Linked DNA regions of Homo sapiens: regions 1 and 2 are each linked to region 3. Evidence: promoter capture Hi-C in 16 types of primary human blood cells and fetal thymus (Javierre and others, 2016). All regions are on one chromosome and are shown on one strand. The core of a region is centred on a gene start or on the middle of the fragment in contact, and the rest is flanking DNA. Distances in the headings are between cores, read along the strand shown. Region 1 overlaps ADISSP (adipose secreted signaling protein). Region 2 has its middle 59 kb from the start of SMOX. Region 3 holds the start of PANK2 (pantothenate kinase 2).

Region 1 (3,546 bases), core at 1,047-3,546, 130 kb after region 3:
TCTGATGTGTGTTATTTCAGCTTTTTTTTTTCTTTTTGAGACGGAGTCTTGCTGTCTCCAGGCTGGAGTACAGTGGCGCCATCTCAGCTCACTGCAACCTCCAGCTCCCAGGTTCAAGCAATTCTCCTGCCTCAGCCTCCAGAGTAGCTGGGATTACAGGCGCGTGCCACCACTCTCAGCTAATTTTTTATATTTTTAGTAGAGACGGGGTTTCACTCTGTTGGCCAGGATGGTCTCGATCTCCTGACCTCGTGATCCGTCCGTGTCGGCCTCCCAAAGTGCTGGGATTACAGGCGTGAGCCACCACACCTGGCTTATTCCAGCTTTTTAAAATGTTATTTATTTATTTATTTATTTTTCTGAAAACACTATGGTGATGGATCCAGCTTATTTTAAAAAGCTTTGTTTCCAAAAACAAAAGCTGGCCTCACCGTGTCCACACTGGTTTTTGCTTGCTTCTGTTGTGAACTGTCTCCTACCTGTGTCAGTAAATAATTTTCCACGAGATTTTACAACTGCCTACTGGTCCATGATACGTGTCATCATTGACTTAGCTGGCTCCCTGTTCCTGGGTGTTACGGCTGTTTTTGTTTTCATTGTTATAAATAGGGCAGCGAAGAGTATTTTTCTGCACATCTCTATTTCCCCTGGAAAATTCTATAAGTAGTACCCCTGGGTCACAGGGTCACAGTTAGCAGGTACAGCCAGAAAGCCTTCTTGAGGGATGTGCCCCCTACCAGCAGAGCATGAGGGGGGCACATGGATTGAAGTTTGTCATGTAGCAATATCAACCTGGTCCCATTGAATGGCTAAAACTCTCTGCAGCCAGTCCCAGTTGGCCCCCAGGGATGGGGCTGCCCAGCCCCAGTAACTGTGAGCAGGACTCTGTGTGCCCATGCAAGCTGGGAGTACAGCAGGCACCCTTTGCCTGCTGGCGTGGCACCCCCACCAGCCCCCCTGCTCAGCAACCACCCTGGCTTGTGACCCTTCATACTACTGGAGTTTCCAAGAATGGCATTTGTCCCAGAGGGTGGTTGTCACCAAGCACTGTGAATGAACAACAGAAATTGCTTGGGTCGTGAGTATGGGCCATTGGACACAGCCTTTGAGTGGGCAGGCAGGCATCCCCAGTCCAGTGCCAGCAGGGCAGCCAGGAGCCCCAGTTCAGTGGCTGGTGCCAGGCCTGTGGGCCAGCTCTGGGCTGACACAGCTGGTCTACTGTCATATCTCTAATTTGATCCCATCCCTCATCCCACGCTATCTGTGGCCTGGTGTCATCCTATGAGCGAATGGAGGACCAGCATCCCTGACCCTGGGATACTGGCAGTGATGGGGACAGGTGAATGACCCATGGGACTTTGAACTTTCCCTTGTAGGCAGTGGGTGGTGCCTTGCTGGGTGCCATGCATAGCAGGAATGGCCAAGAAGTCTAGGGAGGACTTGACCCTGGCCACACTACATAGCCTTTGGCCAGTCATTTTGTGGTTTCCATTTTCCTGTCTATGAAATGAGCCACTGAGGACTTTGGGGCCCGTGAGACAGATGCTGAGGATCTTGCTGGCCAAGCTGTAGGGCTGGGACCCTCAAGGGGTCTGTGAAAGGGCTGGGGCCACTGGGCTGGGGGTCGATCAGCTGGAGTGATGGAGGGAGTTGGGCTTTCTGGGCTCTCTGGGGAAGCAGGTGCTGGGGCGCATGGGATCATAGGTGGCACAACTGGGTGGGCCTGCGGGAAGCAGGAAGTGAAGGTGCCTCCCTCCCTCACCTCTCCTGCTGTAGGTTGGCTTCCTGAAGATCCTGCACAGGTATGAGATTACCTTCACTCTGCCCCCAGTGCACAGGCTGAGCAAGGATGTCCGCGAGGCACCTGTCCCCAGCCTGCACCTCAAGCTCCTCAGCGTGGTGCCCGTCCCTGAAGGTGCGTCCCCTCCTCCAGCAGGGCCTGGATGGGTGTGGGAGTGAGAACATGGGGTGCTCCCTTACTTCCAACTAGGGTGGATGGGCAGCTCAGCAAGTCGGGGATGTGGCACCTCTTTGTGAGCTTGCACTGTGGCAGCATGGCAGGTCCCACACTCCAGGCCTTGCTCCCTGTCCTGAACAGAAGTCCATGAGCTCATACTTCCCTGTACCTGCCCATGGTGTGATGGTTACCTCCGTGGGGCAGTAACCAAGATGGGAGCTGCTGAGGAACTGGTTTGAAGCCTCCAGCCTTCCCTCCTGCCTCCCTAACCCTCTAGAAAAACCTGCTGGAGCTACACACACCGTGTGGATAACTCCTAGCACCCACCAGTCCCAGACCTTGGGTTTCAGGCTGCTGTTCCTATCAGGCTCACTTCAGGCCCTGCCCCATGCCCCACTCCCAGCCTGGCAGAGGCTAGGGTGTCAGTTTCGTGGAGCTCCAGCTTCAGTTTCATGTCCCCGTCACCAGCCTCTTCATGACCTTGCCCTTCAATGGATTGACACCCCTCAGGCCTTTACCTCTTGCCATCGGATCTGCTCAAAGCCTACCCTGCCCTGCCCCCCTCACTCCTCATCACCGCCTCTCCCTGCCTTCCTTTTGGGAGAAAACAGCCAGACCTTCTTTTGGAAGCCTGAATTGGACCCTACTTCATTCACTCTTGGAGCCACATTGGGGTGGCCCACAGGCTGGAGGCATGTCCAGCTCACTGAAGAATGGGTTTTTGAGACCTGTGCACCCCTGCTAGGGGGAATGGGTCTCTGGGCTCCAGAAGGGCCATCCCTGCCCCTTTCTTGGGGGGGCTTAGCATGCAGTCCCCCCATGGTGGTGGGTAGGGGCCCGTGAGTGCCAGGGGCAGGATCGGGGAGGCTGGGGGAGGTGCTGACCAATTGCCCCTGTCCCCGGGCAGGTTATAGTGTCAAGTGTGAGTACTCGGCGCACAAAGAGGGCGTCCTCAAAGAGGAGATACTGCTAGCCTGCGAAGGTGGCACTGGCACCTGTGTGCGCGTGACGGTGCAGGCCCGCGTCATGGGTGAGAGCGTGAGGCTCCTGGTTGGAGGAGGGATGCACAAGCTCGACTGCGAGGGTTTCTGTCCTCCTCAGGGAACCAAGGCTGAACAAGGGATCCTTGCCCGGCTCAGGGGTTCTCAACCTCCTTGGCAGGTCCCTACCTCCAGCTGATCCCTGAGGGAAGGGGAGGGGTCCCCTTAGTGGGCCGCATGGGTGGGGCCGGGGGCCAGCATGGCACTGACTTGCACCCTGCCTTGCAGACCGGCACCACGGCACGCCCATGCTGCTGGATGGTGTCAAGTGTGTGGGCGCCGAGCTGGAATACGACTCAGAGCACAGCGACTGGCACGGCTTTGACTGAGGCCCGAGGCCCCGCCTGCCCCGGGCCCCTCAGCCTTAAACCCCGCCTTGTCCCCCCGACATGCTGCGTGATGGTGTGGCTTCCTCGCCCCTCTCTGGGGTGGGTGTGGGGGTGGAGTGGCCTTGCCCACGCCTCTCACCTCTGCCTTCATTTGTGCTGCCACCCTGCCCCTCCCTCGTCCTCCTCTCCCACTTCCTCCTCTCTGTGTGCCTCAGTCTCC
Region 2 (3,462 bases), core at 787-3,286, 200 kb before region 3:
ATCCTGCAAAGGGGTCTGGGCGAGGCACCCACAGTGTCCATTTCAGTCCCCTATCGGTTTACTGCTGACCCCAGCCAGCCTCTCTCCTCCTCTTTCCCGGGTAAGAACAGACATGGCCCAGGGTTTTCACATTGGCTGGGACAGTCCATGAAGTTCTAAGGGGTCCTGAGGCCCGACCTCCTGCAGCTGGGATCCTCTGTCGGCTCCCCTTCCCAGGCCCAGGGGAATCTTTCTTACACATTTGCCTCCTCTGGTTTCTCCCTGATGACGCAGGGATTCAGCCATGCTCTTCACTTAATGATTCATGTCTTTTCCTTCAGGGGCCCAGACTAACTTTTTCCTCTTTACAGCTTTGCAAAAACAAAGGTCCCATCCCCACCACCTTATCACTTACACCATAAGGGGTTTGTGACTTTTAACTAAAAGAACCTTTATTACAGCAGAAATGCCATGTGCCAGAGAAGATACCCACCCAGCCCCCAGTGGCTTTGGGAACCTGCAAAACACAGTAAAGGTTGAGAACAACTGAATTTCCAGCATCTTTCCTCATCCTGGGAATTCCTAGGAATCCTCCACTGACCGAGTCAGCACAGAAATGAAATGGAAACTGGAGGCTTAGCCAATCAGATGCTTCCACCCAGCTCTTTGAGCCTGTAGTGAGTGATACAAGAAGCCAAGGACAGTGAACTATTCATCCTGGCAGTGGTGGCAGCAGCAGCATCCTGGGGCCTGGCTACATGGTGGTGATGGCCACAGTGTCCCCCAGATGTTCCAGCAGCATGGTTTTCATCGTGGTCTTGGCTATCCAGCTGCTACCTTTGGTGCCTGCGTGATTTCTGGGTCCAGTCTTCAAGATATTCTGTGAGCTAATCAATACCCTTCCATTAGGTTTTTTGTTTTTTTGTGTTTTTTTTTGCCATAATCAGAGCCTGTTTCTTCTGCTTGCAACTGCGAATGGACTAATACAGAGTCTTTGAAGGGTATGGGCAGGGAGAAATGATGGGACCTGGCTTGTACTTTGAAGAAGTCCTATAGGCTGCTATGTGGCCACGATAGTAGAGCACAGCTACAGCAAATGTGAGTAGACCAGGTAGACAAGTTCCTTGGACTGGGGTGGTGGCAATAGGAAAAGTTGAATGGCGTTTTGGGGGGTGAAAATCAAATTGGCTTGGTGAGGTAACGGATGTCGGAGAAGTGGGAGGAAGGACTCAGGATGTCACCCAGGTTTCTGTCTTTCACAAGTGGGTGTTGCGTTAGATTGATTGCAAAAATGGCCGCAATTCTCCACCCCTCCCTTTGCAATATGATTTAGTAACATCTCTCATCAAGAAGCAGAACTTTGCCAGGTGCTGTGGCTCACATCTGTAGTCCCAGCTACTCGGGAGGCTGAGCTGCGAGGACTGCTTGAGCCCAGGAGTTCGAGGCTGTAGTGAGCTATGATTACGCCACCGCACTCCAGTCTGGGTGACAGAGCAAGACCCTGTCTCTAAAGCAAACAAACAAAAGAATCAGAACTTTTTCCCAAACTCTTTCAAGTGAGGCTTGGCTTTGAGAGTTGTTTGACCAAAAGAGTTTGGCAGAAGTGACAGTCTGTCAGTTCCAAGTAAAGACCTTATAAGATCTTGCATGTTTTCATTTGTTTTCCTGAAACCCTGCAATCACTATGTGACTAAGCCTAGACTAGCCTGCTGCATGGCCACGCTATACCAGCCAGCTTCCAGCCAACCCAGCATCTGATTGCAAAAGCCTAGAGAAATAATAAATGGTTAATGCATTAAGCCAGTAAGTTCTGGGGTGGTTTGTTATCCAGCAAGGGCAAACTGATATATATATATATATATATATATACACACACACACACACACACACACATATATATACACATATATATACACACATATATATACATATATATACACACATATATATACATATATATACACATATATATACACATATATATACATATATACACATATATACATATATACACACATATATACATATATACACACACATATATATACACATATATATACATATATATACACATATATATACACATATATATACACATATATATATACACACACACACACAAACACACACCTCCCTATATATATAAAACCATCAGATATATATATGTGTGTGTATATATGTATATGTATGTATGTATATAACATATGTCAGGTATAACATATCAGGTATGTGTGTGTATATATATATACACATATATATATATACACACACAGACACACACCATGGTGTGTGTGTATATATGTATATACATATATATATATGTCCATCCACATCCCAACCAAGCCCACCACCCTCTAGACTTTCAAGGGCTCCTGACTACCTGGACTTTCCACTGTTCTCCTTGGCCCATGAAATTGGATGTCCCTGTCCCAAGGCTGTCTGCAGTACACTCGAACTTGCTCTGCCCTTGAACTTGCTCTTGGGCATATCAGCTGCCCCTTAGGCCAGACCCTGGGCTTTCTGTATCTCAGAAATCTGCTTTTATCCCTGGACCCCACATTAGTCCCTGTTCCTGGCCTTTGGGATTTGCCGTGGTTGTGGTTGGGCCCTCCAACTGGGTGAGGGCCCAACTGCTCACTCCCAGGAGACCAGTACCCACATCCCAGCACAGAGCAGGTGAGAGCTCCCACACTCCTTTTTACCCACTCTCACGGCCTTACTGTGTGCCCTTCTGTAGCTTCTGTGACCCATTGATCTTCCTACAACCTCCCTGGCAGGATCTCTTTGCTCCTCTCCATCCCATATTCAATACCGGGTCCCTGTGGAGCGCCAGGCTCTATACTAAGGACCCTGTGTGGGTCCCCCAAGGGCAGAAACCATCTTTCCCCATCAACTCAAAGTCTCCTAGGCATAAAGGCTGGGGGTGGAGGGCTGAGGACTGACCCAGGACCTCTATTTTGCCTCCTGTAAATAAAGATATCTCAAAATACAGTAAGAAGACCAACTAAGTGGGTGAAACTCCACCAACTGACAGATAATTGTCACATCTTAACTATACATCTTTCCTCGGCAGGCAAGACACATCTAGGCCTGGTGAAGACAGAAACGCTAGTCCCCCCCCTTATTTGCAGGGGATACATTCAAGACCCCCAGTGGATGCCTGAAACCGCAGATAGTACCAAACCCTATACATACTATGGATTTTTCTATATGTACATATCCACCATAAAGTATAATGCATAAATTAAGCACAGTTAAGAGGTTAACAATAATAACTGATAATAAAATAGAACAATTATAACAACTGTTCTATTTTATTCTCAGTTATTATTGTTAATAATAATTATGTTGTGATGATGTTAAGCATCACCACTTTTGCATCCAGGGGTCGTTATTAAATGAAGTAAGGGTTACCTGAACATAAGCACTGCGATACCTCAGCAGTTGATCTGACAGCCAAGACAGCTACCAAGTGACTAATGA
Region 3 (3,295 bases), core at 650-3,149:
AGGAATTCAAGACCAGCCTGGGCAACATAAGAGATCCCATCTCTATTTAAAAAAATAAAAATTGAAAAATTAGCCTGGCATAGTGGCACGTGCCTTTAGTCCCAGCAATGCAGGAGGTTGAAGCAGGAGGATGGCTTGAGCCCAGGAGGTTAAGGCCACAATGAGCCATGATCATGCCACTGCACTTCAGCCTGGGCAACAGAACAAGACGCTGTCTCAAAGTAAAAAACAAAAAACAAACCAAAAAAACCCTTGTGGCTAATGGCTATACTCTTATTTGCTGAATCTTTGGAATTTACATCCATTTCCAACGATGTAATACAAAACCATGAAGGATCTCATATTTTGCATTGCTTCAAACTCAGGTGCTTCTCAAATAAAACAAAACTAGGTGACTGACTCTGAAAATGGCACAGGTTAAGAATCTGTTTTCCAAATCTGTTGCAAGAAGATGGAAAAAGACAAAAGAACTGAAAACTCCCAAACTTTTCACAGCAAAATAGAACTACATTTAATCATCCATATCAGAGAAGATTCAAAAAAGCAGTTGGGTGACTGGGCTAAGGTAGAAGACTATTCAATAAAAATCTCACATCTTGCCATTTTCCCTCCCTCTCACAATCTGCATTTAAACAAGTCAATTTCCTGAAATAGGAATCTGGCAACACCCACCAAAAAGTCCAACCATATGTAAAATGGCATCACACTGTAAAGCTCATATTACAGTATCAGGACAATTGATACTTTCAACAGCAGCAATGGCTGCCAGGCAGCGGTCCTGAATTGAAGACTTGTAAAGGGGAGAAAATACACAACACAGAAAAAGAAACCTAATAAAATGGGGAAACGGATTCTCTGGGAGGAGCGTATGCAACTCCCAAGGCAAAATTCAGAAAGATGTTGTTTCCCCTCAAAACAAAGAGCCTTAATGCCCAGAATGCCACAGTTCTGAATCGTGAGTACCTGCAAATAGACAGAAGGAAAACGGAGGGGATATGTGGGTGAGAGATGACCTGGATTCTCACGAGAAGAAGGGCAGCCACCTTAGAGGTGCACGGAATACAGTTTCAGGCCTGGTGCAACTCAAGGGGCAGTTCACCATTTTCCAGTAAGCCCGAAATTGACGAATAAAAGGGACTTAAAGTATTAGAGAGCAGCTCTTTGGAAACCCACGGAAAACAAACATTGGGGATTCAAAGGATTTGGGAGGAAAGGAGGTGGAAATGAGTCAAAAGAAGCCTTCTCGAGGATAAAATCATGTGACCCTCAGGAAGAGAATGCCCAAGGAGCTAAGAAAAGGGAGGACAGGTCCTGGGGAAAAGCCCTCCACTCCAACAAGCGGGAAGTGCATACCAATGGGTGCGGGGGGGCCCCCGAAGGTACCGCTTTCGGAGCACCCGAGGCCTCCAGCCGGATGTCAGGCCACGCACCAACGAGGGACCACCGTGCGGGGACAGTGTCCGCGCGCGGGAAAAACGGCGGCGGGGCCGGAAGGGGACAGGGTGGGCCGGAAGGGGGGGCAGGGCGGGCCGGGAGGGCGCCCCACGGAACACTTACGCGGCCGCTTTTTCCTCAGGCTTTCGACGCGCTGGCGGGAGACCGAGGTGGGGCCGCTGTAAGAGCCCAGTCGATCCCGCCTCGTGCCCTCAGCCGAGGCCCCGACCGCGGGCACCGACGCGCTGCTCGCCCGGCGCCGCAGTGGCTCCTGCCGCCGCCCTTCGGGGTCCCCGGCCGCCTGCTCCCCAGCCGACGAGACGGAGGTGGCGGAAGCCCTGCCGTGGCGCTCCATGGGCGCGCCGAGCCGGCCCCCTCCCATCCGCAGCAGCAGTCGCTGCCGCCCGAGCAAGCCCCCCAGCGTCGGATTCCTTCTCGCCTCCTCCGCGGCAGTCCAGCCAGAGCAGAGGCGCGCCCTCGGCCGGCCGCCTCTTCCGTTGCGCCAACGCGCAGGAAGCCAATCCGACGAGGCTGGGGACGGCCCAAAGGCCTCGCGTCCAGTCGGCTCCCTAACTCGAGGAGGATTGACCGTGCCTCCGTCCAATGAGAGGCTATCGTGACGGGGCGGGGAGAGGGTGGTGGAGGAGGGGATCCGGGTTCCGCGGAGGAAGAGAAGGCGGTGTAGCCCAGAAGAGAGTGATGGCGGCGCCGCCCAATGGACGCGTGGGTGGAAGGGCCCGAGCCTCCTCATCCACCCCCTCCTTCCGCCCCCCACTTGTGCATGCCTCTGCCCCCCCGGGCCGCGGAACTCTCCTGGGGCGACCCCGAGTCCCACCCCGCTGCTCCGTGCCGTCCTCGCAGCTCGAGCCCTCCTCCAGCCCAGCAGTGCTCCCGCAGCGTCTGGCCGCTGGTCGTCGGCAGACGAAAGGGCTTGAACCGCGGCTGACCTTAGCCTTTGTCCCTCGGCCTAGTTCCGCAGCTGCCGTCGAGGCCGCCAGCCCCTCCCCCAGCATGTTTGGGCTAAGCCGCCTCCTTTCCGCCTGCGTTGGAGAGAGAGGTACCAGAAGGAATGAAAGGACTGGGGCTTGTCTCCATGGCAACTGAAAGAAAGAGGTGGGTTATAAATCCTTCGCCACCCTCCTGTGGCGAAGGAGGGGAAGTGGGAGCCGGGAAGTAGAGTTGGCCTTTTGCAGGAGAGTCTGGAGCCCCTTTCTGGGTGATGCATTGGGGGCCATAGAAGGATTTGGCTGCCGCTTTGGAGCATGGATTTTTTTTTTAATCATCTTCCTTTCTCTTTTGGAGAGAAAAATTGGTCACCTCCAGGACTGAGACCCTGACCCTTCCAAGCATCCCCACTACCAAAGGCTGCCCAAGCCCGGAAGGATCCCATCCCGTTCTGTACTCTGAGGTCACTTCCTCACTCCGTCAAATTTCACTGGACTGTGGGCTAATTAAAAGTGCCTCCGTATTAGCGGGGCGTGGTGGCCCATGCCTATAATCCCAGCTACTTGGGAAGCTGAGGCAGGAAAATTGCTTGAACCCGGGTGGCGGAGGCTGCAGTGACCCAACATTGTGCAACAAGAGCGAAACTCCGTCTCAAAAAAAATAAAAAATAAAAAAGAGTGCCTCCCTGGGGAGACTGTAATGCCCACTGGGCAGTGATCCTAATGCCCCTTGGGCAGTGATCCTTATTCCCCTCTCCCATAATGATTGGTTGTAGCAGGCTGAACAAAAAGGTTGAGCTTCGCTTGTGCTTGCTGAATAGAATTCTCACGCCCACTCCACGTTAGCTCCCCTCACTGTAGGACTAGCTCTGAAAATTCTAGCTCCTGTAGGAAGCCAACACAGACGGATCTACAAG

The links. The method cuts DNA at HindIII sites, captures the fragments that hold promoters and counts their contacts. A CHiCAGO score of 5 or more calls a contact.
Region 1: a contact is called between a fragment that was not itself captured here and the fragment with the promoter of PANK2 in region 3, in 1 of 17 cell types (erythroblasts). The highest score is 5.6, in erythroblasts.
Region 2: a contact is called between a fragment that was not itself captured here and the fragment with the promoter of PANK2 in region 3, in 15 of 17 cell types (naive CD8 T cells, megakaryocytes, erythroblasts and 12 more). The highest score is 9.6, in naive CD8 T cells.

Annotation. Positions count from the first base shown.
Region 1 is chr20:3,753,838-3,757,383 of GRCh38, reverse strand. It overlaps ADISSP (adipose secreted signaling protein), which reads left to right. Exons shown (of 6, transcript NM_001258429.2): 4 at 1,777-1,915; 5 at 2,865-2,987; 6 at 3,226-3,546. The coding sequence ends at 3,326. Among named protein-coding and RNA genes, the nearest start is that of ADISSP, 12 kb to the left of the region's middle. The HindIII fragment of the contact is 3,788 bases long and covers 403-3,546 here.
Region 2 is chr20:4,088,148-4,091,609 of GRCh38, reverse strand. No RefSeq gene overlaps it. Among named protein-coding and RNA genes, the nearest start is that of SMOX, 59 kb to the left of the region's middle. The HindIII fragment of the contact is 6,501 bases long and covers 1-3,462 here.
Region 3 is chr20:3,887,991-3,891,285 of GRCh38, reverse strand. PANK2 (pantothenate kinase 2) reads right to left here and starts at 1,899. Exons shown (of 7, transcript NM_001386393.1): 1 at 1,558-1,899. The coding sequence starts at 1,855. PANK2-AS1 (PANK2 antisense RNA 1) reads left to right here and starts at 2,113. Exons shown (of 2, transcript XR_001754478.3): 1 at 2,113-2,547; 2 at 2,737-3,295. RefSeq lists silencers at 1,515-2,014, 2,205-2,264 and an enhancer at 2,273-2,824. The HindIII fragment of the contact is 15,092 bases long and covers 1-3,295 here.